Linked DNA regions of Homo sapiens: regions 1, 2, 3, 5 and 6 are each linked to region 4. The links are contacts of gene promoters, found by promoter capture Hi-C in blood cells and fetal thymus (Javierre and others, 2016). All regions are on one chromosome and are shown on one strand. The core of a region is centred on a gene start or on the middle of the fragment in contact, and the rest is flanking DNA. Distances in the headings are between cores, read along the strand shown.

Evidence for each region. Contacts are between HindIII fragments. The CHiCAGO score rates a contact against its expected background, and 5 or more counts as called.
Region 1: the fragment with the promoter of FAM98A here is called in contact with the fragment with the promoter of STRN in region 4 in 1 of 17 cell types (non-activated CD4 T cells); the score reaches 7.4 in non-activated CD4 T cells.
Region 2: a fragment that was not itself captured here is called in contact with the fragment with the promoter of STRN in region 4 in 1 of 17 cell types (M0 macrophages); the score reaches 5.6 in M0 macrophages.
Region 3: a contact is called between a fragment that was not itself captured here and the fragment with the promoter of STRN in region 4, in 1 of 17 cell types (M2 macrophages). The highest score is 6.4, in M2 macrophages.
Region 5: a contact is called between a fragment that was not itself captured here and the fragment with the promoter of STRN in region 4, in 1 of 17 cell types (M0 macrophages). The highest score is 5.5, in M0 macrophages.
Region 6: a fragment that was not itself captured here is called in contact with the fragment with the promoter of STRN in region 4 in 2 of 17 cell types (M2 macrophages and M0 macrophages); the score reaches 6.3 in M2 macrophages.

Annotation. Positions count from the first base shown.
Region 1 is chr2:33,596,430-33,600,784 of GRCh38, reverse strand. FAM98A (family with sequence similarity 98 member A) reads left to right here and starts at 1,486. Exons shown (of 8, transcript NM_015475.5): 1 at 1,486-1,616. The coding sequence starts at 1,564. It overlaps LOC105374455 (a long non-coding RNA gene), which reads right to left and starts at 1,440. Exons shown (of 3, transcript XR_939942.3): 1 at 1-1,440. RefSeq lists enhancers at 973-1,202, 1,343-1,392, 1,423-1,492, 2,043-2,232. The HindIII fragment of the contact is 3,614 bases long and covers 1-3,035 here.
Region 2 is chr2:32,353,585-32,358,231 of GRCh38, reverse strand. BIRC6 (baculoviral IAP repeat containing 6) reads right to left here and starts at 1,209. Exons shown (of 74, transcript NM_016252.4): 1 at 746-1,209. The coding sequence starts at 1,070. RefSeq lists enhancers at 1-511, 1,026-1,538 and silencers at 763-992, 1,153-1,522. The HindIII fragment of the contact is 1,729 bases long and covers 1,719-3,447 here.
Region 3 is chr2:32,540,501-32,544,559 of GRCh38, reverse strand. It overlaps BIRC6 (baculoviral IAP repeat containing 6), which reads right to left. Exons shown (of 74, transcript NM_016252.4): 62 at 1,019-1,319. Among named protein-coding and RNA genes, the nearest start is that of MIR558, 10 kb to the right of the region's middle. The HindIII fragment of the contact is 1,230 bases long and covers 1,765-2,994 here.
Region 4 is chr2:36,964,228-36,968,661 of GRCh38, reverse strand. STRN (striatin) reads left to right here and starts at 2,126. Exons shown (of 18, transcript NM_003162.4): 1 at 2,126-2,432. The coding sequence starts at 2,199. RefSeq lists a silencer at 1,636-2,445. The HindIII fragment of the contact is 8,803 bases long and covers 1-3,808 here.
Region 5 is chr2:32,563,593-32,567,855 of GRCh38, reverse strand. The region is part of intron 65 of BIRC6 (baculoviral IAP repeat containing 6); the gene reads right to left. All of the region lies in intron 1 of BIRC6-AS2 (BIRC6 antisense RNA 2), which reads left to right. Among named protein-coding and RNA genes, the nearest start is that of BIRC6-AS2, 9.1 kb to the left of the region's middle. The HindIII fragment of the contact is 260 bases long and covers 2,418-2,677 here.
Region 6 is chr2:32,620,549-32,624,712 of GRCh38, reverse strand. No RefSeq gene overlaps it. Among named protein-coding and RNA genes, the nearest start is that of TTC27, 5.4 kb to the left of the region's middle. The HindIII fragment of the contact is 5,253 bases long and covers 1-4,164 here.

The DNA.
Region 1 (4,355 bases), core at 237-2,736, 3.4 Mb after region 4:
GTAGAATGTGACTAATATTCACACAGCCTTATGGTGACTGCATCATAATGGGCCATATCAAGTGCCCATGGTAAGTGCAGAAAACCTACCCCCACTTCAGATGATGCAAAATAAGGAAACTGAAAAAGGTACTACTGGCCGGGCGCGGTGGCTCACGCCTGTAATCCCAGCACTTTGGGAGGCCAAGGTGGGCGGACCACAAGGTCAGGAGATCGAGACCATCCTGGCTAACATGGTGAAACCCCGTCTCTACTAAAAATACAAAAAATTAGCTGGGTGTGGTGGTGAACGCCTGTGGTCCCAGCTACTTGGGAGGCTGAGGCAGAATAATGGCGTGAACCCGGGAGGCGGAGCTTGCAGTGAGCCGAGATCGCACCACTGCACTCCAGCCTGAGCGACAGAGCAAGACTCCGTCTCATAAAAAAAAAAAAAAAAAAAGAAAGAAAAGAAAAAGGTACTACTAAGGATAGGAACATCTATCCATCAGACACAAAAATGCTTGAGAACTATAGAATAAAATCAACAGGTATCAATATGAAAACTCTTTAATTAAATGCCTACACGATTTAACAGTACGCCAACTTATGGTTAAATATAGTTTTCTAAATATGCCATCACTTTGAAAACATTTCTGATTTTTCAGTAATTTCTAAACACACCCTCAGTAACTGCCAAGATATCACAACACATCCACATCGTGAACTCAATGTTTCACCCGGGCAAATAATGTCAAAAGTAATGACAGTACAGCCAAAAAGTTTATTCACTGTCTAAACTACGTGGATTTAAAAATATTCTATTCTATTTGCTATGGAGTGAAGCTCCCCTTCTCCTTAAAATAACATGCTTAGTGTCTGGGAAGGGCTTTAGACATCAGGTAGAGAATGCATGAGGGAAAACGACCCAACTTTCTGAACATCCATAGTCTGCGGAAAGTTGGCTCATCCCTAACCCTGAAATAAAGCTACTGCAGCCACGAGGAAATCAAATGGCACGCTATCTGCCGTCTGCACTTGGCCCGCACCCGCGTCCTGAAGACGGGAGCGCAAGAATTCTCCCTTTCTACATGACCTGCAAGCTAAGGCTAGCACATGCCGGCACCCTACGAAGAGCCACCCGATCTCCTGTCTGGGATGCAGAGACTCGGTTTAACAGCCGACTCCACCCGCGTCCCGAGACTCTTCCAAGCTCCTTCCCGGCCCGCCGCGCCCCCTACATTCGCACATGCGTACACCCAATAACGAGAGCCGAGAGCGCTCCCCTTCGCGTGGTCCCCACGCCCAGCTGCCACGCAGCCGGTCCTCCTACCCTTCTCTGGGCGGCTAGCTTCACGATCCAGTAACGCGCATGTGCAAAACTGCGGGCCCTGTAATTCTTTAGTGGGCAGGGGTGGGGCGGTCAGTGGGACCAAGTTTCTTGCGCACGCTCCGGACATGCGCAGTGCGGGAGCTGAGGCGCCAGCTGTGGATTTGGAAGTTCCGGGGAAGTCGCGCATGCGCGAGTGTACGCGTTGCCGGCGAAGAGGGGAGCCTGACGACTCGGAAATTTGAATACCACAGTAGCATGGAGTGTGACCTCATGGAGACTGACATCTTGGAGTCGTTGGAAGATCTAGGGTAAGATTGTCAGGGCACGGGTCTCCCAAGCCCCACGCTGCCGGCCCCCTGGGAACACCTCCTGCGCCCCAGTCTGAGACACCTGCCTCTCCACGCCGCACCCCGTGGCTCCTGGCTGTCGCTTCCCTTTGGCCCCGGCACCCCCAATGCCACGTCCACTGTCTGCACTGCTAGCTCGGGGTCCTCCAATCCCAACACCCCTAGGCCTGCCCAGTGCTCCCTGCAGGCGAGCTACCCGCAGCGTTTGTCAGTCATGCGTGTCATTGTCTGGGCTCTGATTTTCGCCACCCCCACTCCCCGAGCTTCTCTCCTCGCTTCATCCTCCTGCCCTACCCCTTAACCCCTCAACTCTAAAGGTTGCCAAAGTTGATTCTGCTTTCCTACTTGTTCTCCAAATTTCCTACTCCCATCTTGAGCCCCTCCTCCTACCCCACCCCACTTCTCTCAAAATTTCTCCTTTGCCCAGTCATCTCTGCATGCACCCAGGCTTCGCTAAGCCACTTGTATGGGCGCTGCATCTGTTCCGCTGGCCAGCTCGCTTGTGCATCTAACCTATCACCACGTCCCTGGGAACCACCAGCAGTTTGCTTTGACTCTGTGATACTCTGCCTCGTTGAGCCCCATTAGACCAGGGTCGTCTTCACCCACGAAGAACCTGCGTATTTGTTTTGCATTGTGTCTCTCCTTCTCCTGATATTTATTCAACCATAATTCATCAGTATCTAGAAGCTGGAAATAGGGTTTGTTATCTCACTGGGTCACCCAGATCAGTGTACTCTATTAAACTTGAGAACGTGGACCCTCTTGGGCTAAATGTGGTTCCAGAAACAAATTGTATGGTTAGATACTTACCTACAGGTACGGTATCAAAACAAAGTACAGATTTAGCTAGCTGTATTTCTAAGTAACAAGTTCTTTATCAAAATTTTCTCTTAGGTTTTTCCATGACAAGGAAACCTTTGAGAGAAACCTTTCTTTAGGAAAAAACACCTTGAGGATTCCCAAAGTCTGCCTATTTGAATAATTTACTACCCTAGTAGAAATTTTTAGGAACGAAGTAGTCTTGCTTATCATCTGTCTTTGTCACAGTGAAATACTATTGTTCTTTTCTTGGAAACTTGCTCTGAATTTTTATAAATATTCCAGACTTTAGGGGGCTTCTTTCTTTCATTAGGGCATATGTTAAAGTCATTCAGCAAAATAGTCTCTTTAGTTGACATCTCAGACTGAATCGCTTGTTCACACATGAAACCATTCATTCATTAGGACTTTTTTAGGAACAGTTTCTTTGTGGCAGTGTTAGGCCCTTAGAGTACAAGGTGAGGTGGAAGAGGGGTTCACAGGATACTGGGAAAATATGCTGTGAGGAGCCCTGAGGAGGGTCCCTTTACTGGGAAAGGAAATGAAATCCTAGAAGCTTCTTTCTGGAATAAATGACACTATAGTACTGTAGTGGAATGAGTGGAATGAAAGGAAGGGGGTAGACCTTATTAAATGTAGTCTTTCTGCATGGATAGTGGTCACTTAAGAATTGGCCACGGATGCTGTTTCTTCCCATTATTGTCTTTTTTTTTCCCCCTCCTTTTTTTAACTTTTTATTCTTTTGGGTACTGTACAAGTAATTGTTACTGTAGTAATTGTAATCACATAACTACTTGACATAGAGTGTAATGTAAACCATGGATTTTCTGAAAACTGTTATAAATTTTAACCTTAACTACTTAGTTTGGTGGCATTCAAATATTAAAAGTCAGCCTTAATTAACTGAAATGTACTTTTAAAGGATTAACTGAGAAATATTAGAATTAAATGACTACCTTTTCTATTTATTTATTTATTAAGAGATGAGGTCTTGCTCTGGTGACCAGGCTGGTCTCGAACTCCTAGCCTCAAGCGATCCTCCCACTTCAGGCTCCGGAGTAGCTGGGACTACAGGTGTATGCCACTGATCCTGGCAAATAGTCATCTTTTATCTCTTACCTGGCACACAGTAGGAATTCAGTAACTACTTGTTGAATAAACTAATGAAGTCTAAATGTGAAACTCAAGGAGAAACTTCTAGGCCTAGTCTTTTGATTTCAGTGTCTAATAATACATAGTTTATAAATCTAGATGCCAGACTACATGTGATCTCATTTTTTTATGTATGATTTGTTTTCATTTTGTTGCATATACTGTATAAACCTATAATCATATTTTAAAGGGTTTGAGAACTGTCATTTCTCTAACATACCTGTAGTTCTCAACATTATATTATCTTTTTTTTTTTTTTTTTTTGATACGGAGTCTTGCTCTGTCGCCCAGGCTGGAGTGCAGTAGTGCGATCTCGGCTAACTGCAAGCTCTGCCTCCTGGATTCAAGCCATTCTCCTGCCTCAGCCTCCTGAGTAGCTGAGACTACAGGCGCCCTCCACCATGCCTGGTTAATTTTTTTGTATTTTTATTAGAGATGGGGTTTCATCGTGTTAGCCAGGATCGTCTTGGTCTCCTGACCTCGTGATCCACCTGCCTCGGCCTCCCAAAGTGCTGGGATTACAGGCGTGAGCCACCACGCCTGGCCTAAACATTATATTATCTTAAGCATATTTATTGTATCATCTTAAGTAAGCATTATTATCAATATTTAAGAGAATGTAAAGCAATCTGAATAATATGTATTTAAGATTACTTGGAGTGACAGAAATCTTATATTTTAGAATATTGGTGATTGGAGTTCATTATGACTGTCATCTTTTATGAA
Region 2 (4,647 bases), core at 1,334-3,833, 4.6 Mb after region 4:
AATCTATTTCATACACCACAGGTCCTGACTTTCTCGTCACTGGGGCGTAGAAGTTGGAAGCCCCGAGCAAGGGGACCAGGTCTAGTCGTCTTCGGCGTCCGCAGAGTCCTACAGTCGTCGACCAAGCAGTTCAGGCAGCTGGCCCGCCTACTTCCCTCCCCACCCCCACCACGACCCACCCCACCCCCACCCCACCCCCACCCCCACGCTGGGCGCACAGCCCGCGGTCTGTCCCCCGCACTGCGGGACCTGAGAACAGCAGACTGCCGGCTCCTCTCCCACAAGGGAGGGCTTGGTTGCCGGCTCAGACGCTCCCCGCCCCTCGCCTCCGGCCACCAGCCTCTCCGCCCGGGGTCAACCCTTCCAGCCTTTCGCTCTCATCTAACCGGACGCAGGACCGACAGCCTCTCCAGGGCCTACCCGGGCCTCGCTTCCTCCGGTGCCAAGCTCCAAGGTCTCCTCACCTCTCGCGGAGGACCAAGCCAGACCGGACGCTCCAGGCCCGAAAGGCAACTCCCCTCCCACCACTCCCTGACTCGCCGGTCTTTCCTCCCAACTGCAGCCGCTGAAAAAGCCAAGTCCTAAGGTCCCCCTCCATCAGCTTCCGGGCCTCCCTTCACGGCTGGGCCCGAACCCCCAGCCCTGCCCTCTCGCCATCTCGCTTCCCCGAGTCGCGAGGCCGAGCCCCGGGGCTGGACGGCTTCTTTCCCCGGCTTCGCGCCCGCCCGGCGTGCGGAAGACTCACCACTGAGCGCGGAGGCCTGCAGTGTGGCCCCCGAGGTGCCGTCGATGACTTTGATGGTCCCGCGGCTAGTGACGGCCAGGATGGCGTTGAGCGCAGGGTGGTAGGACAGGCTGTGCAGCCCGTCGGCGTCGCAGTGCATGCAGCCGTCCCGCAGCACCAGCCACTCTGAGACCCCGGCCGCCCCCGCCCCCGCCGCCGAGGAGCAGCCGGGGCCCGAGGCCGCCGCAGCCGCAGCCGCCATCTTCCGGCCTGCGCTCAGCACAATCACACTGGGAAGCGGCTCAGTGACAGTCCCGGGAGGTGCAGCACCACCACCAGTCACCATCCGGGGCCAGGGGGCAAGCCGAGCGCGTTAGCCGGAAGTGAAGTCAGGCGCCCGCACGCACGCGGAACGTCGATCGCCCGGCCGGAGGGGCCAAACTCGGAGGGAGGCTGACGGGAGAGGGGGAGAAGCAGGGAGGGAGGCGGGGCCCGGGGCGCGGGCTGGAGGCCGGCGGGTGGAGCATGCGCGGGAGGGCTCGCGCGTGCCACGCGCCGCGGGTCTGGCCAGTTCCGCGTCCGCAGCGTCCCAGTTTCTTCCTGTGAGCCTGGGGAGTGGCGGCTGCCGAGTCCGCCCCGCTCCTCGCGGGGGCAGGGGGAGGGGTTGGCCTCCGTGCATTTCCGCTAGGTGGGGACCCCCGCCCTTGCGACCTGTCCGGTACGCCCGGAGGCCTTTTGCAGCGGTTCCAGCTGCGCCTTGACCGTTCCCGGTACGCACGGTGCAGCTGTTCGGCCGTGGCCGGAAGCGGACCTCTGGGTCTCGGTCACGGCTCTGGTGTGAGAATAAACAATCAGAAGCCTCTCGTTTGGATTGGAAGGAACCGAGCGACCTTCCCAAACCTGTACCTTTTACCACGCCTGCCCTCCCCATTCCCAAGGCTTTCTGTTGAACAGAAGTACCAGATACGAGGTGCTGGAAGCGCATAGTTAAGCTTAGTTTCTCTATCCACATTCCAAACAACCCGAGTTACCGGAATTAATAGGAGTGTGGGTCTGTGTGAGTGTGTGGTGGGGTGTGTTGGAGGTCTAGAAAGGACTAATCAATTTACTAATCATCCCCCCTTGGAGAATTTTTTTAAAACTTTTTATTTTGAAATAGATTACAGTTGAAAATATACTACAGACCTCTGTGGTCTTTCTCTCCAAAAGCCATAACCCCTATCTAACTATGAGAAAACCATTTGACAAACCCAAACTGTAGGACATTATTTTTATAAAATACCTAAACACTACTCAAAGATAGTACAGAGAGATCCAATTTACTCTTTACCCAGTTTCCCCCAATGGTTGCATATTACATAATTCTAGTACAATCTCAAAAGGAGGGATTTGATAGTTGTATGATGTGTGTATAGTTCAATGTCATTTTATCACATGTAGACCTACGCACCATAGTCAAGATGCAGAGTTGTATGTTCTATATGTTTTGTGATCATTAGGTTATTTTGGAAAGAACTAGTTTTCCTTAAAAACCTAATCAAAGATCTGTTGTGAGGATTAAGAATCATTTGTAAAATGTGTAGAAGAGCATCTGACAAGTATATACTACGTGCTCAATAAAAATTATAAAAGTTAATTGCCCTCTCACATTCATGCGAACTTCCTTCAGGAAATCTTCATGGATTACCTGAACTACATCTTAAACTATTAGCCATCAGGCTACATCTGAAACACTTAGAGATTTGACTGTATTCCTCTCTTCTTGGGGGTCCCTAAAATACACTGAAGTTCCTGGGCCTGCCAGAGAGTGACATTCCTTACTCATCTGTGGTTCTTTTTTTTTTTTTTTTTTGGCTTTTTTGTTTGTTTTTGTTTGTTTATTGAGACGGAGTCTCACTCCGTCGCCCAGGCTGGAGTGCAGTGGCGTGATCTCAGCTCACTACAACTTCTGCCTCTTGGATTCAAGCAATTCTCGGCCTCAGCCTCCTGAATAGCTGGGATTACAGGCACCTGCCACCACGCCTGGCTAATTTTTTTTTTTTTTTTTTTTTGTATTTTTAGTAGAGATGGGGTTTCACCATCTTGGCCAGGTTGGTATTGAACTCCTGATCTCGTGATCCACCTGCCTCGGCCTCCCAAAGTGCTGGGATTACAGGTGTGAGCCCCCGCGCCCGGCCACTCAGGCCACTCACCTGTAAGTCTGGGAACAATCAGGCCAGTTTTTCAAACGAAGACTTTATTGGCTCCATAAAGTCAACCATAGCTCCTTAATGCCATCTGGTCATGTTTGAAAATATGACATTCCAGTCAAAACCTGGTTAATACAACCAGTGCCTCCAATTATGTCTTGTTACAGGAGAACACATTTTTATAGAAATTATGCAAATAACTATATTGCCATAAAAATAGGAATACTTGGCCGGGTGCGGTGACTCATACCTGTAATCCTAGCACTTTGACTAGCCTGGCCAACATAGTGAAAGCCCATCTCTACTAAAAATAGAAAAAAATGAGCCGGGCCTGGTGGCGGGCACCTGTAGTCCCAGCTACTAGGGAGGCAGAGGCAGGAGAATCACTTGAACCCTGAAGGCGGAGGTTGCAGTGAGCAGAGATCGTGCCACTGCACTCCAGCCTGGGCGACAGAGCGACAATCTGCCTCAGAAAAAAAAAAAAAAAAGAAAATGGGACAAGTTGAGTTTACCTACTTAGTAAGGGCTAAAGCTTTTTACCAATATTTGTGGAAAATTCTTTTTACTTTTTTTTTTATTTGCCCTGTTTCAAAACAGTCTCATTTTTTTCTCTCTTTTCAGCCTCAAGTGATTGATTTGGAGGGTCCTCTCAGTCCCTTCAGAGCCCCCAGTGGAGGGTAGGGAGCCTAAAGTGCAAGTGACTGTGGGGCTGGAGTGAGAAGGGAAAGGATCTGGCAGTGGTGGACAAAGTTGGCAAAGGTTATAATCAGTAGGGATTTCTGGTTTCAGAGAAGAAGGGTTTCAGGTGACAGAATTTCCCATGGGAGAAGCAAGATCCAATAGAGAGAATACAGAGGCTTCACAGAGAGCCAGAAAGAACATCCAGCCCAGAAGGTACCTTTCAAAAGAAGCCTGGGACTGTAACACAGTTTCAGAGAATATACTTTTCTTTCCTTTTTTTTTTGAGACGAAGTCCCGCTCAGTCGCCCAGGCTGGAGTGCAGTGGCGCGATCGCGGATCACTGCAGGCTCCGCCTCCCGGGTTCACGCTATTCTCCTGCCTCAGCCTCCCGAGTAGCTGGGATTATAGGCACCAGCCACTACGCCCGGCTAATTTTTTGTATTTTTAGTAGAAATGGGGTTTCACTGTGTTAGCCAGGATGGTCTCGATCTCCTGATCTCGTGATCCACCCGCCTCGGCCTCCCAAAGTGCTGGGATTACAGGCGTGAGCCACCGCGCCCGGCGTTTTTTTTCCTTATTTTAAGAGACAGCGTCTTACCGTGTCACCTAGGCCAGAGTCAGTGGCATGATCATAGCTCACTGCAGCCTCAAACTCCTGGGCTCAAGCGATCCTCCTGCCTCAGCCTCCTAAGTAGCTGGAATTACAGGTGCAAGCCACCAAACCCAGCCAGAGTATACTGATACCTTAAGAATCCACATCTGTTCTTACCAGCTTTGGCAGACATTTGTCTTGAGCAATGGTTCAGGAATCTGATTCACCAAGGAACAATGTAGGGGGTCAGTAGATAGAAAATTACTAAGAGGAAACCTCAGGGGTAAGTGAAACTCTGGCCAAATCAATCTAACAGGATTCTTGCTGAAGACAGGCCACAGTGATCAGACATCACCTGGGAGATGGTGGAGGATGAGGAGCCTGATCAGATATGGAGGAAGAGGGGTTCTTGCTAAACTGACTTAGCTCAGTTTTCTGCTAAAACTAGACTTTACAAGGAA
Region 3 (4,059 bases), core at 1,130-3,629, 4.4 Mb after region 4:
TAAGGAATATTAATTTTCTAATAAATATTAATAGAATAAATAGTAAGTGAAAATGCAAAAAAAAAAAAGAAGAAGAAAGAAAAAAGAAAATGCAGACGTCACCCAAATGAAAATCTACTTGTGAGGCTATCCTGTAATTCTTCAGTTTTTCTATTAAATAACAATGCCAACCCAATGGAAACAATCATCACAGCTTTCTCTTATTATTCTATGTTATCATTAATACATATTATGGCATCATTTTCCTAATTCTGTTCTCTTTAATCTAAGTATTGCTACCAGATTCATTTTCTGAAAAAAACTATATTCAACACATCACTAATCTTAACACATTTTAATAAACCTTTATTGCTATTCAAAATAAAATCTAAAGTTTTTAGTACGTTTTTTCCATGATCTGTTACCAATATTAGCTTTTAAAATGCTCACAATGCTCCCTTTTGTGCAAATTTTCATCTGCTAACTTATCCCCTCTCATACATTTTAACCTCAAAACACTGCTCTTTCCATTTATTTTCTGAGATAACTCATCCCAACCTAAATCTAATCTGTCCTTCAAGGCCCCACTAAAAACTACCATGCCACTTCATTCACATTGCTGAGTAGTAAAGAAATAATCTCACATGTGTGTTTCTCCATAATACTGCACTCAAGAGTACTGAAGGGATTTTATAACTTGCTAAGTATACATGTTTATGTACATCCCTTGTTTCTATTACTGGAGAACATTAGCTACTTGGGGGTAGCTCTAAATAACTGCTTCATGTTTACATCCCCCCAGTGATGCCCAACAGTTTTGTCAGCACAAGGAAAATAATTTTTGAATGAACACAGAGATGAAAATGAAGATTCTTTAGGATTTATTATGTATAACTAATACTGGAAGTGAGCTACCACTTACAAATCATCTAACAGCTTAACTATGAAGGAAATAAATGATGAATAATAGGCAATGATCTGGATACCTTTACACAACCTATTCACATATGTGTTGATAAATTTAATACTAAACACTTACTTCCTTCTCCATCATCTGTCACTCCCAATACCAATCGAAGAAGGCACTGGGCATGTTTTCTCTCTTTCAGTAGCACTTCCGCATAGCCCGGAAGACGAAGAAATAATCCAAAAGCAGCCAAAGAATGGGCAGGTATGGGAGACATGGTCTGTACTGCTGACTTGATAGGTGGAGGTTCAGCCGCAACAGTTTCTGGTGCTTCATAAACTAACTCCCCTGACTGTTCAATGGTCACCCATTCAAACTGATCGCTATCCTTCGGCTTTTCCTGAGTGGTAGATGTTACAACTGGAGCACTCACCTAAAGAAAAAGAAAAGTGTTGGCTTGGCCATTCACATTTTCAACATCAGATTCAAAGTAAAGACTTAACTTTAAATGATCTCTTTAAAATATAGGATTATAAGGATTAATAAAGCTGCTTGCTTTAAAAAACAAGCTTCCAGCCGGGCGCAGTGGCTCACGCCTGTTATCCCAGCACTTTGGGAGGCTGAGGCAGGTGGATTACTTGAGGTCAGGAACTCGAGACCAGCCTGGCCAACACGGTGAAACACCGTCTCTACTAAAAATACAGAAATTAGCCAGGTGTGGTGGTGCACACCTGTAGTCCCAGCTACTCAGGAGGCTGAGGCAGGAGAAACACTTGAACCCAGGAGGTGGAAGGCACAGTGAGCCAAGATCACACCACCGCACTCCAGCCTGGGCAACAAAACTATCTCAAAAAAATAAATAAAAATAAAAACAAGCTTCCAAACATCAAGACGCACATGACAGCAGAAGTATGGCAGTGTCTGCCAAGTGTCTCTACATTAGTTATTAATTCCACCTTTATAATTAGTTAAGTATCTATATGCAGATTCTTGAGACTATTTAAACATCTTATTTCTCACCAAACTTTTGATCAGTCTTAGCATTTTTATAATTGTGCCTGAAACAATTATTACTAAAGTGGTTAAGAAAAGGAGAACTTTCTAATTCTGTCATTCTTTCTACATTTATTAGTTGGCACCAAGCTATAAGGAAAAATATTCTCTTCTTATCCATTAATTTTTATCAGTATAGATTCTAACTTTATTACACTGTTACTATCATTATTAATTTTGATGCCTGAGGGGAATAAGATTTTGTCTCTGAGACGCCATTAAAGCAGGATCCTACTTCCTTATAACTTGTCCCCCATCGTTCTTTGAGCACTTCCTTGCTTTCTAGCACAGCAAAACATTCTAGGCTCATGTTCTACCTACTCTTCCTCAGTACTAGAATTTCTCCAAGGAGCCCTGATTTCCTTTAGTAGAAAATTTTTAAAATGACAATATGGGAGATATATATGCATATATCACTAGGGGGAGTCTGCTTCTGGGTCCTATCAGCAAACATACCTAGAAAATACATGTATGTATACATGTGTAAATATATATATATATATAGACATAATTTCTAGCATGTATTCTTCAAAACTGTCAAGGCCATGAAGGCCATGAAAGATAAATAAAGATAGCAGAATTGTTACATATGCAAGACTACAAGACAACAAAATGCAATATATGATCCTGAACTACCAGTATCCTCAAACCACGCAAAAGAAAATTGATTTTTCTTTGGCCCTAAAGAACATTAGAAGGACAGGCAAAAGCTGAATAAGATTTGCAGTTTATAGTACAGAGTCAGTGTGAACTTCTGATTTGTATAACTGTATATGGTTATCCAAGAGAAGTTTTCTGAACTTAGGAATAAAGGAGCATCATGTCTATAATTTAATCTTAATAATTCAAAGAAAAACTCCAATTCTGAGCATGGTTGCCCTACAAACTTCTCATTGCATTTAGAAATACTCTACTTATCTTGCTTGACCATGAATAATGCACTTCACTAAATACTAATTTGAAGTTCCACACTCAAACATATAATTAAATGAATAGTGAGCTAATCACAGAGTTATCTCACTATTCACTTCAAACATCAGGATGATTCCTAAGCTTCCTGTATGACTTTAGTAGACTGATAGGTAACTCTGTGGGGTGATTTTTAAATGAATGGTGAGGTAACTCTGTGATTAGTTCACTATTTCTTCCTTCTTTTACATATATATGTAGAAGTCTTAAGCTGATCTACAGCTTAGATCAGTCTTAAGTTGATCTACGGCTACACTACATGCATCTGTACACTGAATAAAACAGGTGCAATTTTGATGCCAGCTTATTTTCACTACTGAAGCTTAGGCCAGAATGACAATATGAAATAGCCTAATTGTAAGAACATAGGAATTTGAGGCACTTTTCACTTCTAAACCATTTTGAAACCCTTTATAGGCAAATTTTTAAAGATCCTCTATATTTATTATTTTATGCTGCACAGAAGATAGTTTCATATAAAAGTACCTATATAATAGAACATTGTTACAGAAGCAGAACTTTACCTCATCATAATTGTTTTCTTAAAGGACTATTCTCATATGATGCCACAAAACAAAACAAATACAATGAAAGCAAAAAGACAGCAAAATCAAAGAGCTCTCAATTTATAGCATTCAAATTCTTTAACAAGTGAAAGACCCTCAACTTCACGAAAATCAGAAGAGCAAATTAAAACCACTATCATATATTTCCCATCACCCATTATACAGATACAAATTTTTAAGTCTTATATTAGATATGTATACAATTCTTCACAACTTTTTTCATTATAGCTAACAACTGGAAATAAAAATGCTAGTCAACATTAAGACTAATACACACAATAAGGTATAGTTAAATATACAGCAAGTATGCTAGAGCTATACAAATGAGACCACCACAGGCTTAGGCATCAACAAAGATTAATTTCAAAATACAGGTTCAGCAAAAGCACCAAACAGTAGAATATAAACTGATATTTACATAAATGTCACAAGTATAACGATTCAAACAGAACTGTTTTAGGGTATTAATATTAAGTGGATTTAATTTTTTAAAGTATTATATTCACTTGTATTATTTCACATTTTGAAAGTCAAAACTGAAAAGTATATGAAAACATGCTTTTTGCTCAATTAACAACAAAGAAA
Region 4 (4,434 bases), core at 877-3,376:
GCCCTATGTAAGTGGAGAGGACATTTCCTGTTATAGCTGAAGTATTTCCATTTGATTCAGTTCTAGGTAGTCAGCCTGAATCTACTTTACGTTCCCTGCCTCCAGACCCTATTCTCCTGCCTCCTGCCCACAACTCCCAGGCTCCAGTGATCTACCCGCCTCGGCCTCCCAAAGTGCTGGGATTACAGGCGTGAGCCATGGCGCCTGGCCAAAATGTAAATGAGTCCTCGTAAAGCAAAAAAAGTATTGTGAGTAATAAAGTTGAACTACGAATTAAAATAGTTTTTGTATATGTGTGGTAGTCCAGATTATCTATACATTTAATTACATTTTGTGTCTGCTATGAATTGACTTAAAGGAATTGTCGGATATGTCGTCTCACTCAAGGCCTCATTGTTGACAAGTCTCAATTTTTTTGGAATTTAGTTCCTTGAGCTGTAAATGAGAAGACTGGGCTGTATCTCAAAGGACACTGACAGCCAAAATAAGTTATGGCACAGGGAATTTGGCCAGGCCTGGATCAATCTTTGATGATAATAAAGAATGAATTCATAAAGCAGAAACATTAATTAAGCGAGAGAAGAGAGTTCTCCATCTTTATTTGCAACCAGAGCAGACACAATGTGTTTCCTGTCCTTTCTGCAAGTAGCCATGGGAAAGGGGGGGAGGGGAGAGAGGACAGGGACAGGATGTCTTTCCCTGACATGTCACTCAGCAGCCTAGATCTTTACATTTTTTCATGGCCATCAAGTCTGATAACCCACAAGTACGTCCTACAAAACGTAAGAATTTCAGATAACTTGTTAGGGTGACAAAATAAGTGCTTAATTTCATTTGCATTTGTTAAATTGTTTTCAGGGGCCTTCCTTTTTGCCACTGTTGTAGTGTGAATTTATAGTGACATATTGTCAGACTTCGGAGAAGGCAAATATTTACAGAGAGTAACTTGAAAGGACTTTGGTGTACCTTTGGTAGGCGGATGCTGTTGCCAGTTGGCAGGTGAATCGTGAAAGAAACTGGGAACAGGACAAGTGAAAACGGAGAGGGGCCAGGATATCTAAGACCGCGCTAGGGAGCAGAAAGGGAACTTGCTTTTTCAAGGTGGTGTAGCTTTTAAATTAAGCCTTTGTGATATTTGATTATACGCCAATCTTTGATGACAGAAACGATGTCATTTATCTTAATATTCCCAGCGCAAGAGAAAACCGATAATCAAAATATTTGTTCAATTAAGTAGAGTAAAAATCAGCGGGAATAAGATAGGAAAAATGAGACCGAAATAACAGAACATCTATTATTGGATGCTAAAACTTTTACAGGATTTACTGCAGGAGGACTGCAAAGGGAAAGAAACTTCAACGGAGCAGTTTTTCAGATGGGCTGTCAACAAACCACAATTTGGAAGCAGCAGCAGAAAGCTGCGGCGTTGTCTTAGAAAGGTGATCGGCGTTCCTTAGAAATGAAAACTGGTCAGGTAACAGGTTTGAGCCCCTCGAGTCAAAAGAGAAAGGCAAGAGCGACAGCGACCCGCAGATTGGCAGAATGGAGGAGCGTCTAGGGTGAGAGAAACTCCGAACACGAAGCCGAAGCGAGAGCACGCAGGGCAGCTGGCGGGAGAACCCCGGTCCCGCGGCCGCACCGGGTAGCTCGCTTTGAGCCTGTTCCTTCACAGAACGGCCAGGAAGCCTTAAAAGATGTGCAGCTCGGGCAGGTATCTTGGCGTGACAACTTCCGTGTGTGTGTGTGTGTGTGTGTGTGTGTGTTTTTGAATGCAACAGGGTGCGCCGCCCGCGAACTTCCGCGTGCGAGGAAGACTGGAGACCCGCCCGCCCGCGCCCAGCCGGCCCCAGAGGAAACCCGCTCTCCCCGCCCAGCCGGCCCCCTACGCGGCGAGCCGGGGCGGGGCGGGCCCGAGGCCACGCCCAAGCTGAGGCACAGCCCTACAGGCCGCCCGGGCCGCGCTAGCCCGCGCCCCGCCCCGCGACTACATTTCCCGGCAAGCCCCGGGCCGCCAGCGCGCCGCAGTTGACCCATTTCCCGGCCCGTCACGGGCTCGGCCGGCCCCCGCGCCCAGGAGGCTGCTCCCTGCTGACTGGGGTGTGGGCGGGAGCGGCGGAGGGAGGAGGAGGCGCTGCTTGCCGCCGCTGTTGCCTCCGCTGCTGGGCGCCGGGGCAGCTCCCCGGGTATCTGCGGCCGCCATGGACGAGCAGGCGGGTCCCGGCGTCTTCTTCAGCAACAACCACCCGGGCGCCGGCGGTGCCAAGGGGCTCGGGCCTCTGGCGGAGGCTGCCGCGGCCGGCGACGGGGCGGCTGCGGCGGGGGCGGCCCGAGCCCAGTACAGTCTCCCGGGGATCCTGCACTTCCTGCAGCACGAGTGGGCCCGCTTCGAGGTGGAGAGAGCCCAGTGGGAGGTGGAGCGGGCGGAGCTGCAGGTAAAGACCCTCCCGGCCTGGCCGTCTTCATCCCGCCTCTTTGCTCCCTTCCGCCCCGCCCCGGACCCTTCTCCCCCTCCCCCAGCCTTCTCGCGTCCCCTCCCCCTTTGCTGCCGCCCATCCCACCCGGAGCCCCGTCCCCTTCTTCTCTTCGCCTTTTGCCTTTCGCTGACCCCACCTCGACCCTGTTCTCACTCCCGCTCCTGGTGCGTTGTTTACCCTCCCCACGCCTGTTCGTCCGCCCCATCCCACTCTTAACTCCCAGACTCATTTCAACTCTCTGGCCATCCTGCATCTCAGGGCTGCCCTCTCGGTTTACTAATTGGGCTGGCAGTAGTTTTGAGAGACGCGGAGCAAATCGTCCGCTGCCCTGGTGTGCCCCTTCCTAGGTCTAGAGACAGTCTCCGCAGAACGTGCCGGCTTTGGCCCCTCTCTTCAAGGAAGGTGATCAAGAAGACAACAGAAGTTGTGTCAGGCCTTGAGTCGAGGCGAGAAGTTGACGTTGGGCAAAAGTGTTATTCATATATCAGATCCCTTTTTTTATATATGTAAATGTCTGTTCTCCACTTTCTTCCGACCCCCCGGCCCCCTCCCACGTTTCTTTTAGGTATTTCCAATTAATGCATTTTGAATGAAGGACCTAGATGATCGCAGTCAGAGAGAATGGTTAAGAGGTGGTTCCTGTTCTCAGAATCTGAAACTTCCCAAGGGTTAATTTTATGTTCAGTGTTTTGGGAGATTTTCTTGTGCTTTAAAAGGAACTAAAGGGACTTTGAAGTTAGTTACATTGCCTTGCATAATCTGCAAGATAAAGTATATCCAGGGAGGAGATAACTGTGGGCTCTGAAAAGAATGAAAGTGAGGCTGATACTTTACAAGCCATTCAGAATTGGTGAATAGGTTTTCAGTGGTTGTTCTTAAAACTTCCAGGGCATACACACCAATTTCAAAAGGAACTTAAAGAACTATGAATAGTTGTGCCTTTCTGTTTTACGGGCTAAGCCTGTATACTTATGAAATTTGAGTATAGTTTTAGTTGGCAAAACACTTGAGTTTAAAATGCTACCCAGTGTGTCACTTTTTTTGGTAACATGTATTTGGCGCTTAAGAAAAAAAAGAAGAGGAGAAATCTGTTAAATAGAATCATGTGCTGGAACAGGCTCTGGTGTAGTGGAAGTGGCTGTGGAAAGAGCGAACACACAAGGCTGTAGTAGACAAGGTTATAGTAAGGGCTGTGTTTGTTGCTAGCTCTGTGACCTTGAGGAAATCCTTTAACCTCTCTGGGTTTCAGTTTTATCATGTATTTTATTCAGCACCTGTGTATTGAGTGCCAGCTGTGTGTCTAGGCCCTGTGTTGAAAGAAAACCGACCAAGCTTCTGCCCTCATGGAGTTTATGTTTTAGTGGAGAGGCAAACAGTCCAGCAAATGCGCCTATAGAATATAATGGCTTATAGTGGCAACTGCTGTGAGGAAGAAATAAGTCAGAGTTCAGGAATAGCGTGTGATAGGGGCAGCTATTTTAGATGGGGTAGTCAGGGTAGGCCTCTGAGAGATGACAAATGAGCAGCTGAATGAAGTTAGGGAGTGACCAGTAGTTTCTATGATTTCCTTGTAAGTCTGTAGTTACATGTTTATATTATTTGGCAACTTTTTCATTCCTATTGTTATATTGCTGTAGTATTTAGTCGATCTAGTCTATCTGATATTTGCAAGTCTTCTTTGACCTTGTTTATATAGTCTCCAACAAATTTGAATACTTACAGATTGATCTTTATTAGCAGCGCATTCTATAAAAGGTGTGGATTTCAGGATTCAAGGAAATGTTAAAGGCAAAGTTTAACTTTAATGTTGTGCAGTTGTGGGGAATGATTTTTGTATTAGTTACTTAAAATTTAATTTCTTTTCCAGTTTTGGGAATATAGATAACTCACACTAATTTGGTTAAAAAAAAAAAAACAAAAACAAAACACACACACACACCAGAAAACAATGCTTACCTTT
Region 5 (4,263 bases), core at 1,298-3,797, 4.4 Mb after region 4:
TGTTGGGATTACAGGCGTGAGCCACCACACCCGGCCTCCTTCCCCACTCTTTTACCTGGTACATCATTTTGGTATACATCCATCTAATCCATTTTCTATATGATGATGTTTCTCTGTGTGTACTATTATGTGGATTAGGTATTATCATCCCCACTGTGTGTATGAGAAACTAATATTTACTAAGTTGCACAAGCAGCTAAATAGGAAGTAAGAAGACCAACAGTGAAAACTTGGTACATTTAGCTTTAGTGCTTTTCCCATTATCCCATGATACTTCCTGAACTGTCCAGTATGGCAGCTACTGGCCACACGCTATCTAAATTTTAACTAAAATGTAAGAAAACTAAGAATTCAGTTCTTCAGTTGCACTAACCACATTTCAAGTGTCCCATAGCCACACAAGTCCTTAATGAATGGCACAGATACAGAGTGTTTTCATCACAACAAAAAATTCTTTTGGAAAGTAGCATCTTCAAGAGACAAATTCCTGACATTCTGTTTTATAAATACAAGCCAGGAAAGGTATGTGGATATGGGGATTCCCCAAAAGAAAAACATTTTTTTAAAAAAGCATAAGAAGTGGGTAGACCAGGTGTGGTGGCTCACGCCTGTAATCCCAGCAGTGTGGGAGGCCGAGGCAGGTGGATCACCTGAGATCAGGAGTTCAAGACCAGCCTAGCCAACATGGCAAAACCCAGTCTCTACTAAAAATACAAAAACAGCCAGGTGTGGTGGTGTGCGCCTGTAATCCCAGCTAATCGGGAGGCTGAGGCAGGTGAATCGCTTGAACCCTGGAGGCAGAGGTTGCAGTGAGCCAAGATCATGCCACTGTACTCTAGCCTGGGTAACAGAGACTCTGTTTCAAAACAAACAAACAAAAAAAGAAGTGGGAAAAGAGTAATGTCTTCATTCTCAGAAAACTGATTCTCTATTTGGAAAATACGGTAAATCCACAGAAATACTATTAGAATACTAAAGTATGTGGATGCAAAATTCACATAAATGAATACTGTTAATTTTATATAACAATCAACTGTAAAATAGAGAAACTGCACAATAGGAAATACAACAAAAATACACAAAAAAACTTATGATGAAAATATCTATGCTGCAGGACAGAGATGATAGTCTCAATAAACAGGTATATCATATTTACAATGGGCATATACAACAGAATAAAAATGTCAATTAAAAAAATATGTGAGCTGGATGCAGTGGCTCATGCCTATAATCCCAGGATTTGGAAGGCTGGGGCAGAAGCATCGCTAGAGCCCAGGAGCTCAAGACCAGCCTAGGCAATACAGAAAGACCCAATCTCTACACAAAATTTTAAAAATTAGCCAGGTGTGGTAGTGCCCGCCAGTAGTCTCAGCTACTCATGAGGCTGAAGTGGCAGGATCACTTGAGTCCAGGAGGTCGAGGCTGCAGTGAGCCATAATCACACCACTGTACTCCAAGCCTGGGCAAGATCCTGTCTGTATAAAATTTAAAAAATTAGCCGGGCATGGGAAGCTGCAGTTAGTCATGATTACACCACTGCACTCTAGCCTGGGACATAGAGTGAGACCTTATCTCAAAAAAGAACCTATTTATGTTTATTAATATGCAACTGTTTTAATTACTAAATGCCCATTATGTAGCCATAAAAAATTAGAATATGCTTTATGCTGTACTGGAGCAAATTCGCAAGTACTATAATGTCATTTTGGGGTGGGGATAGGACAGTAAGGTATAAAAATGGGTTATATGGTAAACATAACCCATAAATGTTAATAAAAAATAAATGATTATTTGGGTAAACATAAAACAAAACACAAATAACAAAAACATAAAAAGAGGGAGACTATGTGATATGGTTTGGCTGTGTCTCCACCCAAAACTCATCATGCATTGTAGTTCTCATAACCCCCATGTGTCATGGGAGGAACCCAGTGGGAGGTAACTGAATCATGGGGGTGGTTACCTCCATGCTGTCCTCATAATAGTGAGTTCTCACGAGATATGATGGTTTTATAAGGGGCTCTCACTGCGTTGCTCTGCACTTTTCCTTGCTGCTGCCATGTGAAGAAGGACATGTTTGCTTCCCCTTCTGCCATGATTGTAAGTCTCCTGAGGCCTCCCCAGCCCTGCAGAACTATAAGTCAATTAAACCTCTTTCCTTTATAATTCACCCAGTCTCAGGCAGTTCTTTATAGCAGTGTGACAATGAACTAATATGTATTTATATTTACTTGTTATACATAGATTTCCTATAAAGAAATATAAGAAATTAGTAGCACTGGTTAGTACTATCTGTAACTATTAGTACTATTAGTTAGATTAGTACTATAGGGATAACTATAGTTTATCCCTAATGAGCTGTTATTGGTAGGACAGAGGCAGGAAAACAGCTATTTATTAGATACCACCTTAAAGCTTTTGAATTTTAAAATGTGGAGAACAGAATACTTAAGAAAAACCTGATGTAATTTAATTAATAAAATATGTCTTATAGGGGAGAAGTACATGATATTGTATATTTAGGTATGTGTTGAATTTTATAAAAACTAGATACTCCATAGTGTCTAACTTCCTCTTTCTACCCAATATCAAGATAGATGGTTTCTACTTTCAAGAACTTGATGGATACAAAATATTCCACTGTAAGGTTCTAAAACATTTAATTAGTAGGAAAGCTTGAATATTTTACTTGGTTTATGAGAACTCAATTTTTCTTGCTAGCATGAGAGGGAAGATCCCTGCAGATCAGATCCCCAGTGAAACTGGTACATACTCTTTAAAAGAACACAACTATCTAAAATCTCTGGAAGTGGTCCTAACAGTATGCAGCAAATGAAGAAACGTTTATTCAAGAAAATGTACTAAAACTCAGTAAGAAAAGCAAGAGTCTGTGGTATGTGAATCAAGATGCTGCTCCTTTCTTCCCCACCCTCAGCTCAATGAGAAAGAAAAACCACTCTAGCTGGCTACAGCCAAGAACACAGGCCTCCCTCTCCCAGAGGTCCAAGTTGGAAAGCTATGCCTTAGTACAGAGCTGAAAGCCTGCCTTCCTAGCGGGGTGAGGGGCAGGATGTCAGCATTTCCCATCCTACCACAGCAACCTCCTGCTGCTAAGTTAGAAGGTACACATGGCTAAGAAGTTGACATTCAATCCCCTCTTCTAGCCAGCCCCCACTCATGGGGCAGAGAATTTGAAAAGATATTTCTCTGGAAAGGATAGGTGAATAGTCAATGAACACATGAAAATATGCTTAACATACTTAGTCATCAAAGAAATGCAAATTAAAACCACAATGAGATACCATCTCACACCCAGTAAGATTATTGTAATTTTAAAAGTCAGGTAATCCATGTAACTCAACAATTCCATCCTAGGTATATTACCAAAGGAATTCAAAGCAGAAACACCAATAGATATTTGTATGCTAATGCTCACTGCAACATTTTTGCAACTGCCAAAATGCAAAAACAAATAGACATCAACTGATGGAAAAGCAAAATGTAGTACACAGCCATAAAATGGAATGTTGTTCAGCCCGAAGAAGTTATCAACTACTGATACATTCAACATCAATAAACCCTGAAAACATTTTGCTGCATGGAAAAAGCCAATTTAAAAAGACCACATATTATATGATCCAATTTACATAAAATATTCAGAAAAGGCAACTCTATATAAGGATAGAAAGTAGATTATCAGCCGCTTAGTGCTAGAGAAGATGAGGGGATGGAAGATGATAACTAAAGGGTACAGGGTTTGTTTGTTTTTTGTTTTTTGAGACAGAGTTTCACTCTTGTTGCCCAGGCTGGAGTGCAATGGCACAGTCTCAGCTCACTGCAACCTCCGCCTCCCGGGTTCAAGCGATTCTCCTGTCTTAGCCTCCCAAGTAGCTGGGATTACAGGCGCCCACCACCACACTCGGCTCATTTTTTTATTTTTAGTAGAGACAAGGTTCACCATGTTGGCCAGGCTGGTCTCGAACTCCTGACCTCAAGTGATCCGCCCACCTGGGCCTCCCAAAGTGCTGGGATTACAGGCATGAGCAAATGTGCCTGGCCAAGGGTACAGGGTTCTTTATGAGGTGAAAAAAAAAAATTATCAAATTCACTTTGGTAACAGTTGTACACATTTGTGACTATAATAAAAATCAATGAATTGTATACTTTAAATGGGTGAACTGAAGGGTACCGAATTATCAACCATTAAAGCTGTCACTAAAATTTTTTTCTCTTAAGTACTTATTCATATACATTTGCTCCTTT
Region 6 (4,164 bases), core at 840-3,339, 4.3 Mb after region 4:
GAGATGGAAGGGTCATGAAATGCTATTCGCAATCCTGACTTCCTTATGCTTGAGCTAATGACAAATCCAGCCTCCCTTTCACCACTTAAAAAGATAGGAGACAGAATTAGTTCAAACACATGGCTGGGTGTGGTGGCTCACTTCTGTAATCCCAGCACTTTGTGAGGCCAAGGCGGGCGGATCACCTGAGGTCAGAAGTTTGAGACCAGCCTGGCCAAGATGGTGAAACGCCGTCTCTAATAAAAAAATTAGCTGCACGTGATGACACACGCCTGTAATCCCAGCTACTAGGGAGGCTGAGGTGGGAGGATTGCTTGAACCCGGGAGGTGGAGGTTGCAATGAGCCGAGATTGCACCACTGCACTCCAGCATGGGCGACAAAGCAAGACCCAGCTGGGTGTGGTGGTGCACACCTATAATCCCAGCTACTCGGGAGGGAGGCTCAGGCATGAGAATCGCTTGAAGCCGGGAGGCAGGGGTTGCAGTGAGCTGAAATCATGCCACTGCACTCCAGCCTGGGCGACAGAGCCGAGGCTCTGTCTCAGAAAAAAAAAAGTTTTACATCTTAAGTCTCATAGGTGCTAACAGATACTAACAGAAGAGGGGAACTATTGTTTGAGTATACTGAGGACTGGGCGCGGTGGCTCACACCTGTAATCCTAGCACTTCAGGTGGCCGGGACGGGCGGATCACGAGGTCAGGAGATGGAGACCATCCTGGTTAACATGGTGAAACCCCACCTCTATTAAAAATACAAAAAAGTAGCCAGGCGTGGTGGTGGGTGCCTGTAGTCCCAGCTACTTGGGAGGCTGAGGCAGAAGAATGGCGTGAACCCGGGAGGTGGAGCTTGCAGTGAGCCGAGATCCCACCACTGCACTCCAGCCTGGGCAACAGAGCAAGACTGTCAAAAAAAAAAAAAGAAAGAAAGAAAAGAAAAATAGAAGATGGGGTGAGGTGGGGGTCACCTGCTAGAAGCAAGGGCAGGCTGATTGAAGGGAGGGGTAGTTGGTATGCTTCCGTATCTCCATAGTGTGATGCTTTTTCCCTAGCAGTTGGCAAATTGAGACCAACTGATAGAGATTAAGTTATCAAGTACTAAACATAGGGTCTAGGACATAGATACCAAAAAATGTTAGCAATTCTTAGCTAAGTATTAGGGGTTCCTCGTTTGAGGCAGACGAGGGTATAGTTTTCTCATTGCGAAATCAGAAGCCAGATGATTGAAGAGTATAGGCTTTTCCTAGAGCTGCATGAAGTCTTCTCAGGGATCTGTCCTTCCTTGGCTCACAATCTAAGGTGATCGCTTCGGCTCAGAGACTGAAATTGGTGATAACTGGAAGACTCCCAAAATACAATTGAAATGATGAATATTATTTATTTATTTCATTAGACTGACAGCTTCCTGGGGGTAGGGTCAGACTCTTACATGACATTTTATCCCAAGAATCCAGCACATTGCAGAGCAGGTACAAGTGCTCAGAACAAGTTAAGGCACTATCTTTCCTTGGTAAAGAGGCATTTACAAATGACACCTAAGGGTAGGTGAGCTTCAGGCCTTTCTAAGCTCTCCCTTGCTAAACTCCTTTGGGAGATTAACTTTGCCCTTTGGGTCAAAGGAAGTATTTGCCTTGCTTCAGGAAGTAACTGCTACCTTTGGGGTATGGAGACAACCAGGGGGAAGATTTTTTTTTTTTTTAAACCAAAACTAACATATGAGTGATTTGGGCTTGAAAAAATATTTTTTCTCATTTGTGAATTTATATCAAAAAATTCTGACAAAGTCTTATAAAAAGAGAAGAAAAAAAAAAACCCAACAGGACAAATATTTGAAAATTGGCCAGGCTTGGGAAATCTCATACTTATCTGGCAAGAAGGGCAATAACAAAAATAGCAGCTCCCAGAAAGGCGGCACAGAGGAGCTCTAGCTGGTTCCTCTAAAGATGAGAAAAGCTCCAGAGCTGGAAGGCACTCTATGGCTGCATTTGCTGACTTTGCAGACAGCAAGGTGAAAAAGGGAAGGAATAAACCAAAGAACAAAACCTATAGAAAGGCTGGGGGAAAGCAACAGCAAGGAACAGAAGTGGTAGGAATAAGAACGAGGGAAATGCCTGTCTACCTTTTGACCCAGAGGAGTACAGGGAGGTGGGGAGGGGCAGTATCCTGGGGACCCCAGCAGGCAGAAGTGTCTAACCTGAGGCCGTAGGTCTCCCAGCGGCCCAGGGCAGCCTGCAGCTGACATAATTGGACTGGGTATTCCCTCCCTGGAGAAGTGAGACGTGAATAAAACTGAAAACAATTAAAATGGTGGTGGGCTGCAGTCTCTTCCTGCACAGGAAAACAGCTAGTGCAACCTGAAGAGGGACACACATGAAGGAAGCAATGGAAAGCAGACTTTTGGTGGAGCTCATGGGAGCACTACGAGATCACATCCAGGAACTAAGGGAGAAAGAAGGCCAGAGAATGCCTCTTCTATACAGGAAATGTATAGGCTCACAGGGTTCACGTCAGCCCCTTTAGAGCTTGAAGCATCAGGAGGCTAGAAGCTGAGAGAAAGGAGGCTTGGATGGCTGCTAGAAACTGGGCAGAGTTTGAAGAGGAAAGAGAAAGCAGGATGGAGCTTCCTTTCAACATGGCTTGTATCTTCCATCCACATGTGGACTCTGGCTTGTCACCACCATACCTGCCTCTGCAGGGTGCGAGATGGGAAGCAGCTCAAGCCTGTTGCAATTCAGTTGCAGCGAAGCCTGTAACAATACCAAAAATCAATCTCAGTTAGAAAATATATAGCCTTTTTTTTGCCTTTGCATAGGGAATAACTTCAAAGGAATAAAATGCAATTAAAATCAGAAAGGAACAGATCAATAGATGACTTCACGATTTAAATTTTTTTTTTTTGAGACGGAGTCTCGCTCTGTCACCAGGCTGGAGTGCAGTGGTGCGATCTGGGCTCACTGCAACCTCTGCCTCCTGGGTTCAAGCAAATCTCCTGCCTCAGCCTCCCAAGTAGCTGGGACTACAGGCGCCTGCCACCACGCCCAGCTAATTTTTGTGTTTTTAGTAGAGATGGGGTTTCACCATGTTGGCCAGGATGGTATCGATCTCTTGACCTCATGATCCACCCACCTCAGCCTCCCAAAGTGCTGGGATTACAGGAGTGAGCCATTGCACCCGGCCGGCCCCACAATTTAAAACTTCTATGAGAAAAATTAAACAAAAATTAAAAGGCCATCTGGACAAATACACAGAAGTTTGACAAAAACTAATATTCTACTATAAGTAGCTGATACATACTAAAAGACTCTAAGAAAATACACAAAATAGGGAAAAGGTATAAACTGGTAACTGACAAAAGTAGAAATTCAAATGGGTAATATAAACAATGTTCAATGCACATTAAAACATGTTTGATGATAATAAAATATCAGATCAAAAAATTATATAATCTCCAATGCTGGCCAACGCATGACAACACTAAAAGATTTTCCAAGTGTGAATCAGTACCTCTCAGGAAAGCGGTCATTATATATCAAAACCTTTGACCTAGGAATTCTACTTCTAGGATTTATCATAAGAAAATAAAGATAAGACCATGCTCATCACAGCATTAGTTATAATCAGAAAAGCAGAGACAAAAGCAATTCCAAACTGTCCAACAGTAAGAGATGGGTTAAAAACATCCATTAATTTTCTTTTTAAGACACGGTCTTGCTGTTGCCCACAGTGGAGTGCAGTCACGTGATCTAGGCTCACTACAGCCTCCATGTCCTGGGCTCAAGCAATCCTCCCACCTCAGCCTCCCGAGTAGCTGGGACCACAGGCATGTGCCACCATGCCCAGCTAATTTTGCTATTTTTTGTAGAGACGGGGTTTTGCCATGTTGCCCAGGCTGGTCTCAAACTCCTGAGTTCAAGCAATCATTCCGCCTCAGCCTCCCAAAGTGCTGGGATTACAGGTGTGGGCCATCATGCCCAGCCTACAGTACATTTTACATTTGTCTGACTTTGGAGATTTTTGTCTTAATGCTAGGAAAGTATTTAAGCAGTTTTACTTTTTGTTTTTTTACTGTTCATTAAGATAAAAACTTTATATAGTTAAAAGTTTCACAAATAGACCAATTCACTTTACTGATTTTCACATCTCTTCAAGTTCTCCGCATGTGCTCTT